3 separate regions of the Homo sapiens genome follow, and regions 1 and 2 are each linked to region 3. Evidence: promoter capture Hi-C in 16 types of primary human blood cells and fetal thymus (Javierre and others, 2016). All regions are on one chromosome and are shown on one strand. The core of a region is centred on a gene start or on the middle of the fragment in contact, and the rest is flanking DNA. Distances in the headings are between cores, read along the strand shown.

Region 1 (3,111 bases), core at 455-2,954, 2.2 Mb after region 3:
TTGACATATTTCCAAATAAAAATAACTTCCAACTGCTTCGACTTTAGATAATTCATATAAATCTAACAAAGTCATGTCCTTTGTTATCTTCTTGCATAGGAAATGTTGATCCAATCCCAACTCCAACAGGAAGTATGATCAGTAGTTTTCAAGTTCCTAGGAACCATTTCTCATAAGGAGAATCTATCAGCAAATTATTAGATTTTTTGCTTGTCTTCTTAACATTTCTAAGAAGATAAGAAAGGAAGGAACAAATTGCCCAGACCACTGTCCAGCCTACATAAAACAAACTACCTGCTCCATTCTCCTGAAAAAGAACCAGTCAGTGATAATAATAGGAATTTTGGAAAAATTTAAAACTTGTTTGAGCCTCCAAAAATTATCTAGTCTGCAGCCACCAAATTTTTTCCTCCTAGTCATAGTGACTCCCCTTTAAAACTCCTCATGATTCCACACTAAAGAGGCTCAAAGCATCTTTAGTTGCAGCCATTATAAGGAAAAGAACCCTGCCAGTTCACCTACTGTCATGTAAAGTCCTGAAACAGGAGTTCCTAAGATGCTTTTTTTTTTTAACCTAGTTGGAAGATGTTTTTATGCCTAATTTCTTATGTTTGGTTGACTTCTGCAAGTATTTATATCTTATCATGATTTCAATATAGACATCAGCAGCTTAGGTTTAGAACAATTAAAAAGTATGTTTAATGACATTATGTGAATTAAATGTCTCCACTCAAACAGGTCCTTAGGACAAATTTTGATGACTAATTCTGGGCTGAGGCAAACACACTTAGAGTTGCCAATAGTTTGGCTGAAACGTGTTGCTCAATATTTTTCTATGCCAGTCTTCAGCCACTTTACCCTTTTAAAAATTCTATCTCTACCTAAAGGTACAAAGAACAGAAGCAAGTTTATGAAAAACACAGCGAAAAAAATGAGAGAATTACATAGACTTTTGCATCTGTCCCCAGGCACTTTACACACAGGGCAAAGGGACACAGGATTTAAGGGAATTTTGCTGGAAAGGAGGGGTTCAACTAAGAAACATCATGAATTCTTTCTGCACTACAATTGTATGAAAAGGGCAAAAGGTGAGGCATGAAAAGGAAACAGGTCCATTGACTAAGTAAAGTGATAGAAAATTGAGTTTGAAATGACAAAATTGTGTTAACTGCATTTAGTTTACTGTTTCTTACATCCTCTCTTATTTCCCTTTTCTCAATACATTGTACTATTCTTAGCCACTGTTTTATTACAAATAAAACCTTCACAGGAAACAGAAGGTTAGAAGAATCTGAAAATCATTCTTTCCCTTATAATTCTTGACTTTTAGATGATAAATCCAGTTTTTCTAGCAGTATGTTAAAATTAGAAGATTCATCTGAATATATTTAGGCTTAAAACAAACTTTATTCACAAAACACAGCTATATCTATATAAAAAAAGCTAACTTCACCTCAAAATAATTCAGATTATATTCTTTTTTTTTTTCCTGTTTCTCCTTCCCTTTTTTTTCCTTTTTTTTTTAAAGTGATGGGGTCTCACTCTGTTGCCCAGGCTGGACTTGAATTCCTGGTCTTGAGGGATCCTCCTGCCTCTGCCTCCTAAGTAGCTGGGACTTCACGTGTGCACCACCATGCCCAGCCAGATTATCCTTTCTGAGTTTGCTACACGGAGGGGTAACTCATTTACCTATGTAGATCCAATTCCACGTAGGGAAAAATGAGTTTCTCTTTAATCAATTCCCAAATGATTCGTGTCATTTCATCTCCTTGCATCTCTACCACAGAACCGCCACTGATTTTTTTGGACATTTTGACTTCAATAAACCTAAAAAGAAAAAAAAAATACATGCCTTGTCATTTATTTCATTATAAAGTGAAATATATAAACAACGTAGTGTTTATATAAACAACGTAGTGACTACTAAAAGAACAATTCATGCAATTCAATTTATGTGTAGTTGAATAAAAAGCTAGTAACAGCAATTCTATTTACCATTAGAATTGAGTATCTTCTCTGAACAAAGTATTGTGTTATGTTTCACACGCGGTTTCTGAGCTAGCCCTCATAACAATCCAAAAAAATGGCCATCATTTCCCCATTTTACTTTGTTAAAAAAAAAAGAGCTTTCCCAAGGCCACCTAGCTAGAGCGTGGCAGAGCCTGACCCTATAACGTGCCCTTCATAATGCAATCATTATTCTCAACTACTGGTTTGTCTTAAGAAATGAGATTATTTCCACAATCTCATGTTTATTGAACACTTCAGTCCAACTCATCATTTTACTGGGCTCTCAAGATGTCCAGAATGGTGAGTGCTAGCATTTCTCCTCCTTTAAGAGGCTGTTTTTGTTATTTAATAAAAATAACTAGCCATGAGGAGATTCAGCTGGTTCCTGTGACCCATATTCAGGGAAACTTTAAGTCTAAAAGCGAGACGAAGAATTCCTGGTGGAACTGTTTTCCTAGAGATAACACAGACATTGGAGATGTGGGGCTAAATACAACAAAGTGATTTCTCAATTAGAAGAATCTCTATACAGTAGGGCCACTGCCCAGGACCCAAGCATGTCCCTGTCATCTTCTTCTGGCTGTTCACAGGCAAGGGTAAGCTGCTAGTGAGTGGGATAGGACAAACTGTGCATTGTCCTAGGAAGACAGCACTTTAAGGATAGGGTGTGGGGGTAGCATATACAAATCAATCTGATTCTCAGAAAGTGCAAGGTTGGACGCTTTGGAAGAAATGAAACTGTCCCAGCTTGTCCCTAGAGGCAGAAGAAGCTCTGAGCCTGCTAAAAGTTATCTATTCCTTCTAATGATGCTCTAATCGAAACTCTTTTTTAATCCAACAACACAGCTGCAAATTGCTTTTATTCTCTTAAGGACTAAAAAAGTCAAGAGAATTGACTTTAAAGAATTATTAGATAAGAAGCCTAAAATAGTCTTTCTTGAAAAATTGAGCTAAAGTAATTTGGTCTTTAAATAAAAATGTAATGATTAGTAGACAGTAAGCGTCTGTTTCTTGACAAGCCTGGATGTATTTCCAATCCCCAGGCCCATTTTCACTTCCCAAATTCGCAATTCTAGAATTCTTCTTACTAGTGTTTAGGAG
Region 2 (3,396 bases), core at 632-3,131, 2.2 Mb before region 3:
GCCTCTGGAGGCACACCACCAGAAAAGGGAAGAAAGCCTCAGATGAGCACACGTACAGTTTCCTAAACACACTGCATGTGCTCACCTCCTAAGGGTAAGGAGGGCACTGCACATGCGGGCAGCCCACCCTAAGGGAAGAATCCTGTGAAAGAGGCCAGCCTATAAAGTCCTAAAATCAAGGTTAAACACCACACTTGACCTTGGGCCTCTTCCAAGCACATGCTCCTTTTTTCTGTTCTAAAGCTTTTTAAAATAAACTTCTATTCCTGCTCTGAAACTTGCCTCGGTCTGTATTTCTGCCTTATGCTTCTCAGTCAAATTCTTTGTTCTGAAGAGGCAAGAAATGAGGTTGCTGCAGACCTGTACAGATTTTCTGCTGGTAACTAAGATACCTTCCACCGATAACATAATGATTTCTAGGATGGGGGACACAGAGGAGCATTGGGAGGTTGCAGAAAAGCCACTAAATGGACACTAGTTATGGGGGTGGTTGGGAGTGAATGACATTGGTTTGATGTCTTTGATGAATCGATGGGTATGGAAGCAAAGGCCTGAAGAATGGTGGAATATCTGCCAAAGAAGGTAGGCTAGAGTGGTGAGGAGGGGAAGCACAGACAAAATGATGGCTCCTGGCAGTAGAAGGAAGAGTTAGTTTGGGGAATTTGGAGAACTTCATGTCATTCAACGTGATGGAAACATTTGGTACAGAAGGAAGAAAGAACAAATGTGGCAAGAGATGAGGCCGAACTGGGGAAGGAGTTGCCCTTCATAAGGAATCTTGAAGGGGTGTGGGCCTTACCTAAGAGAGGAAGCCAGTGGAGGATCCTGGGTGGGGCGGGGACACAGATGAATTCTATTTACATTTTACAAAGATTACTCTGGTTGTAGCATGAAGACAGACCAAAATGGGACAAGGGTGGGAATAGAAATGACAGAGGCCTGATCTAAGTCAGTGACCTTGGCAAGCGAGGAGGAAAAAATACTTGAGAGACAGTTAGGAAGTAGAGTAATTGGGGTTTATCGGTGAATCAGCAGGAAAAGGGAGAAGGCTGGTTGGTGGTACCACTCAACAGTATAGGCAAGGTAGGAGTTGAAGCAATTGTGATTAGGAAGGACCTCTCACTTTTGATGCTTGTCCCTTTCAGAATGGCAAACCAAGCTTAGGTGAAGCCTAGATATTTGGGGGTTACTTTCTAACCCTATTGCTTGGACTCAACCATGCTGGTGTCTGAGCTCCTCTACTCAGACAAATGTTGCTTTCAGTAAGTTGCAAGCAAAGCAAAAGAAAGACATTCACCTACGGCCCTTCAGAAAAGCAAGCATGCTGCATGATGAACTCTGGTGCCCAGGAGGCAAGAAATAAAAAACACTTTTAATGTAACCAACTTTCCATGCCCCACCCTCACCCCAGGCGTCTGCATACACAAATCAAAACCATCTTAAGTCATGGAATGAAAAAAAATTAAAAGCAAACTAAAAGCACTTCCTGTGAGGTGAATGGAAATTTTTGCCCAGTTAATTTTCCAGGCACGTGAAAGCAGTTCTGAATATTTTAAACCACAAGTACTTGTATTCTTGACCAAGATTTTTGAGAAGGCGAGGCATGGGAAGGATCATTGAAACAGGACTTTGACATAAAACATTGTTTACATAGAAGTGAGCTCTTCTCCACTATCGGATCAATTTACCACCCAGTGTCTGACAAACTGAGAAGCGAGAGGGTTGGGAAAAAGCAAAGAGATACATATCAAACAAAACCACACATATCCAGTTGAACTAAAGCTGAATTTAACCATAACTTGTGCAACTTTTCTCCCCTTGAGGTAGAAACATTACACCTCCAATTGACCAGGACATCTTTTTTTGCATTCAAATTATCTTGGAATTTCCTCTAGGACCTAAGTATCCTTCCACCATGAAAATAGGAGACCAAAAAAAGTAATGCTTCCAGTAATTTCTAGCCAAATAAATGAGGATAAGTGTGTGAGTGTGGTGGGGTAGTTAAGAGTTTGGAATCCAGAGTTTCACTGTCTGGATTTGAACAGGCTCCGTTGCTCATCAGCTCTGTGACTCCGGGCAAATGACTGAATCTCTCTAACTCTCAGTTTTCTCATCTATGAAATGAGAATAAGTAACAGACTCTCCCTCGCTGAGTTGTTTGAGAACGGGATCAGACAATGCACGTGGAGCCCCGTGTCTGGCACACACTATGTCCTCATTGCATATTTATTATTAGGTTTCTGCTTTGTATTTTTCTCTGTGCAACAGCCCTGAGCTCTAGAACTTATGACAGCTTTTCTCAAGTGAAGTTAAAGTTCCCCATACTCAGTTCCAGAGCTAGGCCTCACCTAGGTTGGAAGAAGTCAATTGTTCTCCACTGCCTGCCTGTGTGCTGGGAAAGGACTCTAGCACAGTGCCGGTGGGGCTGGAAGCCTTTCCTCATGATGCTACGGGGAGTACAGTGAAAAGGGAGGAGATTGGGGTAGCAAGGTCCCAGGGGTCCTGGCAGCCCAGGCTCTACTTCTCAGGCTAGCTCAGTCCCTCAAACAGCTTCCTTCACACCCACTGCTGAGACCCAGGAGCCCTACAGAAGGTAGCTAGGGGAAGCTTCAGCAGCTAGGGGGATCCCTGCAGGATCAGCCTCCTCCTTACCTTGCAGACCCCTTGGCTGTGGTCTGGCATTCCTAGTGGCTGGCCTAAAGCCCCAAACCTGGAATCTGTTTCAGAGCCTGGACCTTTTGGACTCACACCTTGGTTTCCCTGGCCAGCTGATTTCAGCTTCTCATCTAAATGTCATTTCTGCAGGCTAAGGGAAGTCCAGCCTGGATCTAGCATCTTGGAAGCGCGTTCAGACTTCTGGATGGAGGGATCAGCAGGCCTTGGTATTGGTGGTTCTACCTGCTTCGGTTAAGAGTGAGGACTCTGGAGCCAGACTCTCTAAATCATAGCACTGACACTTACTATATGACTTGGGCCAGGTTCGTTACCTGTCTGTGCCTCAGTTTTCCTCATCTGTAAAATGGGAGATTAGTGGTCACCATTGGGATGATTAAGAAGATTAAATGAGTTAATGTATGTATAAACTATAGTTATAATGTAAATATATATACAAACAGTAACCATTTACATGCATATAAAACATAATATAAATGTAATATTAGCTATATTCATATATAAAAATAGGTATATTTTATATATAAAATATATTACATTTAATTTTTTACATTTTGCATTAAGATATATTATTTCATATAAAACATTTAAGTACATATACATATAATTATCTATGTAATTATTATTGTTATTGTTGTTATTGTCTACTTTACCTCCCTGCAGGGATGGGGAGACCACGGCAGGCTTTTAAACATTCTTGGTCTCACTGAGCCGTAGGTGAGG
Region 3 (2,961 bases), core at 289-2,788:
GCCTGATCCTGCCCCTCTCACTGACAGTCTCCTCGCTGCTCCCTACATCTTCCTCTCCGCCGGAGCTGTCCAGAAGGGGGATTTTGGACCCAAAGGAATCGGGATGAAAGGGGGTGGGTACTCAAGCTGAAAATAACACCCCCAGTTGGTGGGGTAAGGGCTAAAAAAGGCAATAGGGAAAGATTGTCCGGCAGAAACACCACCTGAGTTTACCTCCTCCTTCCCACCCCAAAAACCCAGTCACTAACTAATAAAGCTAAGAAAAGCCCCTTGCAAACTTTTCCAAACCGGAAGAGAAGGCCCTCTCCCCAACCTGGGGGGCTCTAGGGGGAAGGGGCTGGAGTTAGCAGCCCCGAATGGGCTCGCGGGGAGTTGGGTGGGGCGCGGGCGAGGGGTGCAGGGGCGGAGTACCTTCTTCAATGGACAGGAACTGGCAAAGAGTTTCAAAATAGCCGAGTGCGCTCCCCCACGCCCTGGGGGGTCCCGGGCGCTAGGACCAGGGCTCCCCGGAGAGACAGCGGCCCCCAGTTCGGGCCTAAAAGGAAACTTTCTGGGCCGCGGCTGCACCTGACTCCTCACCGCCCCTCCACCCGACCCCACGCCCGCCAGGCCGCCCGCCCCGCCCCGCCCCGGCCTGGCCGTCCGGAGCGCGGAGGAGGGGGATAAATAAATTCAACTCTTACCGGAATCTGGGGGCCGTCTGCGAGAGACCCGGGGGAAGGGGAGCCGGGCGCCCATTCCCCACTCCCCACTCCTAGGCCCTGACGCCCCTGTCCCGGCAGCCCGGGCCTGCCGCCCCGCGGGAAAGCCTCCGGGCCGGCGCGGGATTCGGCCCAGCAGCGCCGCCGTCCCACCCGGAGACCCCGGGGGACTCGAGGGGGCGCGCGGAGGCCCGGGGTGCGGGGGCAGGGCGCGGCTGCCGTGGGGCCTACCGGCCCGAGGCCTACCGGCGCCCCCCCCTCCCGCCGCACACCCCCACCTGGCCCGCGCAGGCCGCTCCGCTCGCCCCACTCCGGCTCCGGCTGGACCCCTGCCCGCCCGCCGTCGCCGCCCGCGGGCGCCCCGGAGGCCCTCAGGCCCCCGGCCTCCACCACCCGGGCGCCGGCCCCACTCACCCTTTCATTCTCCGCCCGGGGCCTGGCGTGGGCCGGCGAATCCCCGGCCTCACGTAAGCGCGCTCGCCGCCCGCCCAGCCTGCGCGGCCCAGCCCGCCGCCCTACGGGAGCCCGGGGATGTGGGCCGGGCCTGGGGCCGCCTCTGCTTACCTTTCAGCTGCTTTTTTTTTTCTCCTTCCCCCCTGTTCCCTCGGCTGGGCTGACAGATCAGAGTGAGAGGCGCTGGCAATGGACTAGGAAGCTCGGCTGCCGCTGCTACTGCTCCCCCCTGGGCTCCGGCGAGAGCCTTTCCCTGTCAAGCAAGAGGGGTGAGGATCATATTTTTATTTTGGAAACTAAAAAGTGCTCCCAGGGTCGGTGATTATTAAGGGGAAATCCCTGAATATACTCTCCAGCCAAGAAGGCAGGGCTGCCGGGGCTGTACAAGAAGAGGCAGCAGCCTCCTACAGCACCACTACAGGCACTGCGAGGACATAACACCAGAGAGCTGCTCCTCTGCCCTCCGAAACGACAACTTTCCTACCATCTTGGAGGCAGAGCAAAGGGGGGCCAGGGGGAAAAGTGCACCCGCTCCCGATAAAGTACAAATTTTTACTTCTCATCTCTGGAAAAAAGTCCACACCGGCCGTCTACACCCGCGCCTGGGGGAGAAAGCAGGGAAGAAACGGGGGGTGCATGAGAAACGTTTTCATTTGCTCCAGGGGGAAAAATGTTTCTGCATCTTCTGATGGAAAGAAATCTTTACAAGACACAGGTTTTCCGGTGGTTATTGTTTTTTATTTTCTGTTTTTAATTTTTTTCATGTTAGTGACAGTGATATTTTAATATTTTTTTAAGCCAGTAATAATTTTTCTCCATTACAGGGCTAAGTTCTGTGGCTGGTGGTCAGTTTGTAAATTTATACTTAAAGAGACTTAATAGTAACTTCATTTATTTGTCTGGTTATGTTATTGTATATATAAATATTTATGTTTTCATATATTGCATATAAAAATTTGTGTTACATGTTACTCTCAGAACAGATTGCTGTAAGACAATTGTAAAAAAACATGTCTTTCGTCTGTTTCTCAAAGCAATGTAAATAAAACCTATGGACTGTCCAGAAAGGCATGATACAGTGTGTCATTTTCCACAGTGCAGATAAAGGCAGCTATCACTGGGGATTTAAAAACGGCCCCTGTTTCTGGAAATTCTGTTATGCTGCCCATACAGAAAGGATACAGTAAAACTGGAAAGAGATTTTAAAGACAGCCTTAGATTTTTCTTGAGGTAAAATAGCTTATTAAGAATTATATCCGGGCATTTAATTTTTTTATTTATTTAGATTCTTTAAACTCTAGCTAGATCTTTGGTGCATTACACATGTTGCTATCTGCTTTTTGTGTCACAGAATTGAGAAATGTGGCTATTTTTGTTAGTTATGTTAGTTCAGAACTTCCAATGTGCTGCCAGCCTGTATGATAGACTTTTTGTATATTGCAGTGGATGTCATGAATTTACTTTTTTAAATGAGCAAAGCTTACTAGATAAATGGGATCAGAGTTAAACAATGCTGTTAGCACAGAGGTGAGAGGGACAAAGGGTACCCATTTACATCGATTCCAATAGAACGCTTATTGGAGGATAAATTGCAGAGACATTTTTCTATTTTTGTGAAGAAAGAGAAAAATAATAGAAAAAGAACCGACTATCTTTGTATGTTCTACTGGGGATGATGATTTAAATCTTGTATTAAAAGTTATTTTTCTAACACATGTTGACTAACCTGGCAGGAATGAATTTGTTATATTAGTGCCCTGAATCAGTAGAATATTTAATTTCTTTGTAAAATTTATTACACAACATT

Evidence for each region. Contacts are between HindIII fragments. The CHiCAGO score rates a contact against its expected background, and 5 or more counts as called.
Region 1: a fragment that was not itself captured here is called in contact with the fragment with the promoter of INO80D in region 3 in 11 of 17 cell types (non-activated CD4 T cells, neutrophils, fetal thymus and 8 more); the score reaches 11.8 in non-activated CD4 T cells.
Region 2: a contact is called between a fragment that was not itself captured here and the fragment with the promoter of INO80D in region 3, in 2 of 17 cell types (naive CD8 T cells and total CD8 T cells). The highest score is 8.3, in naive CD8 T cells.

What each region holds. Positions count from the first base shown.
Region 1 is chr2:208,249,741-208,252,851 of GRCh38, forward strand. It overlaps IDH1 (isocitrate dehydrogenase (NADP(+)) 1), which reads right to left. Exons shown (of 10, transcript NM_005896.4): 3 at 1,690-1,827. The coding sequence starts at 1,811. Among named protein-coding and RNA genes, the nearest start is that of IDH1, 3.8 kb to the right of the region's middle. The HindIII fragment of the contact is 3,792 bases long and covers 1-3,111 here.
Region 2 is chr2:203,932,782-203,936,177 of GRCh38, forward strand. LOC101927840 (a long non-coding RNA gene) reads right to left here. Exons shown (of 4, transcript XR_427213.4): 3 at 3,327-3,396. Among named protein-coding and RNA genes, the nearest start is that of ICOS, 2.3 kb to the right of the region's middle. The HindIII fragment of the contact is 1,448 bases long and covers 1,158-2,605 here.
Region 3 is chr2:206,084,636-206,087,596 of GRCh38, forward strand. It overlaps INO80D (INO80 complex subunit D), which reads right to left and starts at 1,539. Exons shown (of 11, transcript NM_017759.5): 1 at 1,266-1,539. INO80D-AS1 (INO80D antisense RNA 1) reads left to right here and starts at 20. Exons shown (of 2, transcript NR_186084.1): 1 at 20-113; 2 at 1,322-2,869. RefSeq lists silencers at 270-564, 466-515, 556-755, 776-945, 1,026-1,235 and enhancers at 1,286-1,575, 1,302-2,121, 1,626-1,675, 1,686-1,795. The HindIII fragment of the contact is 4,007 bases long and covers 1-2,631 here.